3 separate regions of the Homo sapiens genome follow, and all the other regions are linked to region 1. Evidence: promoter capture Hi-C in 16 types of primary human blood cells and fetal thymus (Javierre and others, 2016). All regions are on one chromosome and are shown on one strand. Each heading gives the region's core, a stretch centred on a gene start or on the middle of the fragment in contact. The rest is flanking DNA. Distances are from core to core; before and after follow the strand shown.

What was found. The method cuts DNA at HindIII sites, captures the fragments that hold promoters and counts their contacts. A CHiCAGO score of 5 or more calls a contact.
Region 2: a contact is called between a fragment that was not itself captured here and the fragment with the promoter of BTK in region 1, in 1 of 17 cell types (neutrophils). The highest score is 5.1, in neutrophils.
Region 3: a contact is called between the fragment with the promoter of FAM199X here and the fragment with the promoter of BTK in region 1, in 5 of 17 cell types (neutrophils, M0 macrophages, activated CD4 T cells and 2 more). The highest score is 12.1, in neutrophils.

The regions. Positions count from the first base shown.
Region 1 is chrX:101,384,815-101,387,514 of GRCh38, forward strand. BTK (Bruton tyrosine kinase) reads right to left here and starts at 1,377. Exons shown (of 19, transcript NM_000061.3): 1 at 1,248-1,377. RefSeq lists an enhancer at 644-863. The HindIII fragment of the contact is 7,609 bases long and covers 211-2,700 here.
Region 2 is chrX:103,693,214-103,695,913 of GRCh38, forward strand. No RefSeq gene overlaps it. Among named protein-coding and RNA genes, the nearest start is that of MORF4L2-AS1, 7.3 kb to the left of the region's middle. The HindIII fragment of the contact is 4,314 bases long and covers 1-2,700 here.
Region 3 is chrX:104,165,089-104,167,788 of GRCh38, forward strand. FAM199X (family with sequence similarity 199, X-linked) reads left to right here and starts at 1,365. Exons shown (of 6, transcript NM_207318.4): 1 at 1,365-1,894. The coding sequence starts at 1,698. RefSeq lists a silencer at 1,153-1,642 and an enhancer at 1,207-1,707. The HindIII fragment of the contact is 4,401 bases long and covers 1-2,358 here.

The DNA.
Region 1 (2,700 bases), core at 127-2,626:
TTTATCAAATAACTGAGGCTCCAGAGAGGCTGGAGTCTGGGCAACTTATCCAAGGATGTCTTGATTGGGGTCACCAATCACTTTTATTCTAAATGTCATATTATTTGCTCTAGGTAGGCCCTCTGGGGGACATTGGCAGGTCTGAGGCAGAGTAAAAATTATAGCAAATACTGAGATCCAGCACTTACTATTGCCAGGCCCTGTTTTAAAAGCTTTACATGTATTTGCACATTTACTGCTCACAACCACCTTATGGGGAAGGTGCTAGGCAGGCAGGGAGGAGGAAATGGAAAGGGAAAGGAAAAGGGAAAAGAGCGGGGGAAGAAAGGAGCAAGAAAAAGTCAATGCAATTCGGCAATTATTTGTTAAGTGCTAACTGTATGTCAGGGTCTGGTAATCAACAGAACAGAGGAGGGTATAATGAAGAGGGGATATAGGTAGAGAAAAGAGGATGAGTGGGAAGAGGAGGAGGTTGGAGAGGAGGAAAGGAAAGGAGAAATAATGAAGACAAGAGAAAAGCAAGCCATGCACATGGAGGGCAATGGTAAGAGGAGAAACCTTTGCCACAACCTCAAGGGTTGGCCGCACTGTCTGGGCTGAGGCAGAGGCTGCTTTCTCCTGGCCCAGTCTTTTACCCATTGTTACCACGAGGTTGGCACAGCTTCCACACAGTCCTTTAATAAGCCAGCTCTGACCCTGGCGACATTTGGCCTGGTACAGCTCAAGGCAGGTAGCCTACACCCTGGCCTAGCCAGGCCTTTCCCTAGCTCACAAAGGTCAACTTCATAACGTGGAGCGTGAGCTTTTACCATGTTCTCAGAGAATCTGCCTCTTAGTATTTCTTTTTCTAAAGGCTTCATTGACCCATGTATCCCTATTGAGTCTTCAAGCACTATTTGACAGAAGGGCTTGTTTTTATCTGACTGCTCCCTGCAATATTACTTTTCCACTAAGTTTGCCAGAGGTACCCCTTTCTAACATTTGCTACCTGTTCGGATGGTCACCTCATGTCACATTTTTCTCTTCCTGTTCCGCCCACCCTCAGCCCTTGTCGGAAAGGACCCTTTCGGCCTCTCTAATCACCAGAAGGGACTGCCAGGGCCTTGTGCTGATGACACTCCCACCCTCCGTCAGCCTCCTCCACTAGCTGATAAATGGCACCAGCCATGCTGTCTCTCTGGTTTTTAGGGGTCCCAAGCAAGGTACATTGCTGCTGCTGCCCAGCCCCTGCCATACCCCAGACCCACCTCAGTCCTGACTTAATGCAGGTAGCTTCCCAGATGCATTGAGATGCCAGGACTTGGAAGGTGGGACTCGATCGCAGCAGACACTGGCCCTGGAGACATATTCTTACAGTCCAGAGAGGAAGGACAGTCTGAGCAAACCCCACCCTTTCACAGCCACTCAGTTCCCTTTTTTTGCTTCCTGACCTAAACCAATGTCTTTTTTTCTTCTCAGCAGCATGCTATCTGGTTCCCTGCTGCCGTCCCTATTCCACCCCCTCAACTGTCCCCGCCCTTCATTTGCTTGGGACCTCTGACACTACTATCTTGAGTCTATCTTTGAAAGAACCTTTCTCAACATGACTGGGGCCACTGAGACTCTAGATGGGGCTGGCCTGAGCAGACAGGTCATCAAGCTATCCTCCCAGAGGTAAAGGGACAACATACCTAAAGTACTATGAAGACAGTCAGCACAGGGAGAGGGGCTTACAGGAAAGAGGAGAGATGCTGGGGGCTGGCAGACACAGAGCAAAGAGACTGGCCAGGAAGAGCGTTTTTCGAGTCTCCTGTCCTCCGGGGCAGAGGAGTCTCAGGGACACACAGTTGAACTTGATAGTGAAGGGACCCCAAAGGACAAAACAAGACAGAGGTAGAGACAAGACTTCCCCGTGCTGAGTCATTTTCTAAGAAAGCATTTTTCCCCTACAGATAAAAATGTCGGAATATAAGCCCACAGAAATACTTGTGCCCTTCCCCATTTTCTGTGGATGTTGACTTTCTCCATTTAAGATTTGGCCTCAGGGATTAACTCTCAATGTCCACCTTTCTCTTGAGTCCTGTAAACCGGTAAAGCAGACTAGGTATGTCACTTGAAGCCTGGAGGTTTTCTCAGGGGCCCCCTACATTATGCTCCAACTGCAATGATTCCCCCAGGGATTCTCCTAGGAAATGCAGCCAGTATTGAATGCAGACCATGATGGTGGAGCCCCTGCTGACTGATCTGCCTGCCCACCTTGACACCTCGGGCACTGCCATATTTCCTTGCCCCAAGGCACTGTATCCTAATGTAGAAACAGATCACAGGTCCCACTACAATTTCATCCGAAGTTTTAAGTCAACAGGACCTTATTTTTTTTTCTTTATTTTGTCTAAAAAACAAACAAACAAGCAAACAAAAAAAATGGGGTATATGTGCAGAAGGTGCAAGTTTGTTACATAGGTATATGTGTGACATGGTGATTTGCTGCACCTATTGACCCATCCTCTAAGATCCCTCCCCTCACCCCCAAGCCCCAACAGGCCCTGGGACCTTTTTTTTTTTTTTTTTTTTTTGAGACAGGGTCTTGCTCTGAAGCCCAGGTTGGAGTGCAGTGGCGTGATCATGGCTCACTGCAGCCTCCACCTCCTGGGCTCAAGTGATCCTCTCACCTCAGTCACCCTAGTACCTGGGACTATAGGCACACATCACTGTGCTGGG
Region 2 (2,700 bases), core at 164-2,663, 2.3 Mb after region 1:
ATCTCAGCTCACTGCAACCTCCACCTCCTGGGTTCAAGCGATTCTCCTTCCTCAGCCTCCCAAGTAGCTGGGATTACAGGCGCCGGCCACCACGCCCAGCTAACTTTTTGTATTTTTAGTAGAGACGGGGTTTCGCCATGTTGGGCAGGCTGGTCTTGAACTCCTGACTTAGGTGATCTGCCCGCCTTGGCCTCTCAAAGTGCTGGGATTACAGGCGTGAGCTATCATGCCCAGCTGACCTGCAGTTTTTAAAACAGTGGGGTGGATCCCTGTCTCTCACCATACACAAAAATCAACAACAACAACAATAAAACAATGGGAAAGCTGCCTGAAGGCAAAGATCACACACACACACACACACACACACACACACACACACACACACACACTCTTTCAAGGACTTGGAACCTGACTGTTCCAGGTCCAACCTGAACCTGCTTGGAAAGGCGGGTTCCATAGAGTACCCATTGAAAACTATGTGGTTTTGTTCGTTCTTTGTTGTGTTTTCACTGTGTAACTAAGCAAATGACGGGGTTTGTACACTGCTGGGAGTGAGCAGATATGGTTGGAGAGGTGGGGCACTGTTTAGGGCATGGGGAAATCAGAGCACATGTTCTCTCAAGGTCCTGAGGTTGAGATAAAATGGTTTGAAACTGGGGACAGAGAAGGGAGCAAGGGCAGTTCCTAAAAGGTACAAAGCCGAGATTCACCCCGCTGCTTCCAGGCCAGAGTTCTGGGTAGGACGTCAATGAGACCCAGGCCGGTACAGCCAGCTTTCAATAGAGCTGGTCTGTGAAACTTGGCCGAGAGGACAGAGGAAGATTGATGTTTGCTCCAGAGTGGGGCTGTCAGCTGTGCTCACCACCTCACCATGCTCCCAGCTGTAAACAAAAGTCCTGGCCCTTCATGGCACTGCAGAGCAGTCCAGGCTGGCGTAAGTCTCTGAGGACAGCTAGACCATTTTCTCATCCTGGCTGAGAACCAGAAGACAGAAGAAACAATAGAAGGTGGTGGGTAGGGGTGGGCAGGATTGCAAGGGGGTGAGAATCAGTGACCAGAGGGAAGGAGCTGTCAATTTCAGATCTTAGGTTTGTGCATCCAAGTACTTAGTACAAATCTTATAGGGAAAGCAGACCCCTTTCCTTGTCAGCTTCACAGATAATAGTGAACTACCAAAGGAGGCTTGCAGGGACTCTAGTGCCTCATTCATTCATTCATTCTTTCAGTGAATACCTCATGTGCCTGTCACTGGGCTAGATACTCTGGGTGATGCCAAAGTAATACAAGACAGCTCGTAAATTCAAGGAACTTACAAGAAGTTTGTAAACGTGTAACCTTAAGTCACAATACCAATAGTAAGACTTTAAATCCTAAGTGACAGACATAGAATAAGAGTTTAGAAACGAGAGTAGTCATATCTGGTCATCATCAGAGAAAATGGAGTTTGAGAGGGCTATAGAAAGATAGACACAATTTGGCCAAGGGAAAAAAGATACCAGGCATTCCAGGCTAGGACCAAATTGTTAGTAACAATGAGGCCTGCCTTCGCGAAGGCAGAAAGTTAGTATGACACAGACTCTCTTCAGTCTTCACCCCGTCATGTTCCTCACCACAGCTAACCCAGTCTTCAAAACTCACTTAAATGTCACTTCCTCAGGGAGGCCTTCCCTGATCTCCAGGGCCAGATTAAGTACTCTTGCTTTATGTTCCCATAGCACCCATTACTTTCCCCTTTCTAAGACACCACTATTTTCACCTGATGACCTACTCATGTCTCCCTACAATTTGTTCTCCACTCTGCAGCCGGAGTTTTTTTGCAAATGCAAATCTGTTACATCACTTCCCTCTTGGAAACTCTCCTACCTCTAACATCTTCCTTCTCCTTTGCCTTCCTGGTCCTTCTTGCCTCTTTCCATCTTACTTTTCCTTCTGGTCACTTCTTAAATGTCTCTATCTAAGTTTGTCTCCCCTGCCAGAATGTCAGCCCTCTGAGGGCAGGAGTTATGTTTCTTCCTCACCATGTATCTGTGTATTTAGCACAGTGCCTGGCATATTGTGTTAGGCACTCCACAAAAATTTGTGAATAAATCCAAGGGAGATAAGGCAATATTAGTAGCCAACTGAAGGATTAATCTTACACTTCTGTGCAAAGGGAAATCTTTAAAAGTTTTTAAATAGGGGTATAAAAAAAATCATGAGAGAACCCTGCCTTCTGACAAAACAAACAGAACAAAGCAAAAAATGATCAAACAAAACCCAGAGAACTCCAACCTCAGCTTACCCTAAACCCGGCCTCCCAATGATCTTGTAGACTCATGTTCTCTTCCTTTCTGTTTCCCCCACCACTGCCTCCTCCAAAAACACAAGAAAACTTACTCATTGATCCTTCCAACCAGAGAAATTTGGCAGTATGGCCAAATACACTTACTTCCACATTTGTAGTTGTTCGTTGGGCTAGCATTTATTGCCCACCTCCATTGTTCCAAGTGCTGTGCTCATAGCTACAGATGGAGACTTTTTTCTTACCTCGATGGTGCTCACAACTGAGTGAACCCCTTACACTTACCACTCACTTCGTGACTTCAAATTTCTAGTGAAGGGCTTTGCTTTACCTGGGCTCAGTGATGGAGACTTTTCAGGGTACTGGAGCCTGCAAAAGACCTCAATTTCAGGACCATCTGTAAAACTGGGGACTCAGTG
Region 3 (2,700 bases), core at 115-2,614, 2.8 Mb after region 1:
CCATAGAACAAACCATCATCAGCCTCACTTCCACAAGTTTTAAATTGGTCAGCCTCATTAGATATTAATGAATGATTCATTTTGAAAGCCACATACACAATGCAACACACCTTCTTGCAATCTCAATGAAAGAAAGCCGGCATGCTCAACAGTCAAACAACCAAGTAACTGAAGCAAGATAATGTATACATTTTAAAGGCACGTTGGAGAAGCTGTTTTCACTATAAGTTGCATTGGTAGGGCAAGGCACAGAGTTTAATACTGAATGGGGCTTGTTTTAGTGACAACCCCCCACTTCTCCTGCCCTCTTTCTCTTCTTCCTCCTGCCTTCTTTCATTTTTCCCCTCCTTTCCGCCTATTTAAGTTCTATGCTTTCCTGAAGGATCAATGTAGTTTCTTCATAAATATAGTTAATGCAAAGAATTGCTTTTATTGAAGAATTATGCTCTTATATGAAAATGTGCTTCCTTTTATAAAATAATATTAGGTAGTTTTAAAAATTGTCTTCTTTGGGCAAAGTAAGAAATTAGTAATCTTGGGGTTTCCTCTATTTTTTTTTAATCTTACGCATCCAAGAACAGGAATCACTTGCCCAGAATATAGAGAAGAGAGATGAGATAAACAGCAAAGTACACTATATAACACCTAACAAGTTGATTCAAGTTGAACAAGTTAAGCTCCATAATATATTTTCTACGGGAGGGAGGGGGCAAATTAGCAGGTGTGCCTTAGTCTCCTTTGGGAGTCAGGGAAGGCTTCACTGAGGAGATAACGTTTGAGCTGGAGTTTGAAGGATTAGCAGGGGAGAAATGGCAGGGCATTCCAAGCAGGGTGCCTATGAGCAAAAGGCGCAAAGCACAAAAGAGTACGACGTGTCCAGCAGCTCTGAGTAGGCGAGTGGCTGCAGCGTAGGGTTCTTGGAGTTAGGTGATCAAGGGTGAGGAAGGGACTATTTTCCCTGCTTGGACGATTTCTCCTACACCTCATTGCACGGTGCTGGGCACACACTGCAGGAGCTCAATAAATACTTGTTGAATTGGGACAGAATGAAAGAGTGCGCTGGGAACCAGGGCATCTGGATGTTTTCTCACGCACCCGCAGTGTGACCTTGGCCAAGTCCCTTTTCTGGGACTGCGGTTCCTGCTTAGTAGTCGAGTACGAGTGAGAAAGCGGAGGAGGAGGTTGGCCAGAGGCGCCTAGCCTTTCTAGCGGCCTGAATCCCTGATTCGATGCGTAGAGGGCGGGGCGGGCCGCTTGGGGCCGCGGCGGGCGGAGGTTCAGTTCCTCCTCCGGTCCAGCAGGGGGCACGGGGAGTGGCTTCCCGCCGCCCTTCCCCTCCTTGCGGGCGCCGGGCAGACTGCTGCAGTCGCAAGCGGCGAGCGCAGTGGGCGGGGCGGGCCTGGCCGGGCCGGGCGGCGGCGCTGCGCTGACGGGCTGAGTCTGGCGGCGGCGGAAGCTGCAGAGGCCACCGGGGCGCTAACTGGGTGGCCGGTGGGCCGCTGTGGCCTCGAGCAGCCTCTTCGCGCGGCCCCGCACCCCGGCAAGCAGCAGCGGGCCGCGACGCCCAGCCTGCCAGTGAGCTGCGACGGGCACACCCCGGAGCGTCGGCGACTGCGGACAGGTTAGAGTGGGGGCAGGGGCGGGCGCGGGAGCAGCCCAGGGCCAGAGAGGGAGCCCGAGCCAGGCCATCTCCAACCATGTCCGACGAGGCCTCGGCCATCACTTCCTACGAGAAGTTTCTAACCCCCGAGGAGCCCTTCCCACTCCTGGGACCTCCTCGCGGGGTGGGCACCTGCCCGAGCGAGGAGCCGGGCTGCCTGGACATCAGCGACTTCGGCTGCCAGCTGTCCTCCTGCCATCGCACCGACCCGCTCCACCGCTTCCACACCAACAGGTACGAACTGCACCTGAGGGCAGGGGTGGATTTTCCACTTCTGGTCGCCCCCCGCTCCTGATCCTTCGTCCCGGGCTGCGCTTCCAGTCGCCCCCTCCCCCACCTGCTTTCGACCAGCGCTCATTCCCGGCCTCCTTCCCTGCCCCCCCTCCCTATTTTCACCCCTGCCCTCCTATTTTCCTTTCGACCGGCGTTTTACTCTCTTTTCCTCATTCATATTCTGGCTATAGCGACTCCTCCCTTCCCTACCTTCTCCCTCCCTTGCTTCCCTTCCCTCCCCCCATCTGTACCCTACGAATCCCAAACCCCCACCCTTGATTTTTAGATACGCCCCTGTTTGCATCCATCTGCAAAAGTTTAACCCCTTCCATTTCCGGTACGCTGTAGAGGAATTTGGATGGCTCAAGATCAATCCATAGATCTTTTGAAAAGTGGCGTTGAAAGGTGGAACATTTAAAGCTAGAAGCTTCATTTTCCCTATTTTTAATCTGTCTCACAGTCCTGTTCCCCCCGCCGCCACCACCCCTACCCCATTTTTTTTTTTAGTTGAGCGCTAGGAAACTAGTCGATTCTCTCTTTTTTTCCTCCTCCTTTATTAACTGTTTGCCTTAGCGCTTTAGGCTCTGCCAAAATTGGTAAGCTTAAATCTGGAGGATTCCTTCATATGACATATCCCTTGGTTTCCTTCCCCTTTGAAGAGACAGAGTAAGGCTTAGGATGGACTGACTTACACAAATTTATTCAGAGGGTGTATCTCCTCCTAACTGATTTCAGTAGAAGGTAGTGTTCTGGAGACTTCTCTCATG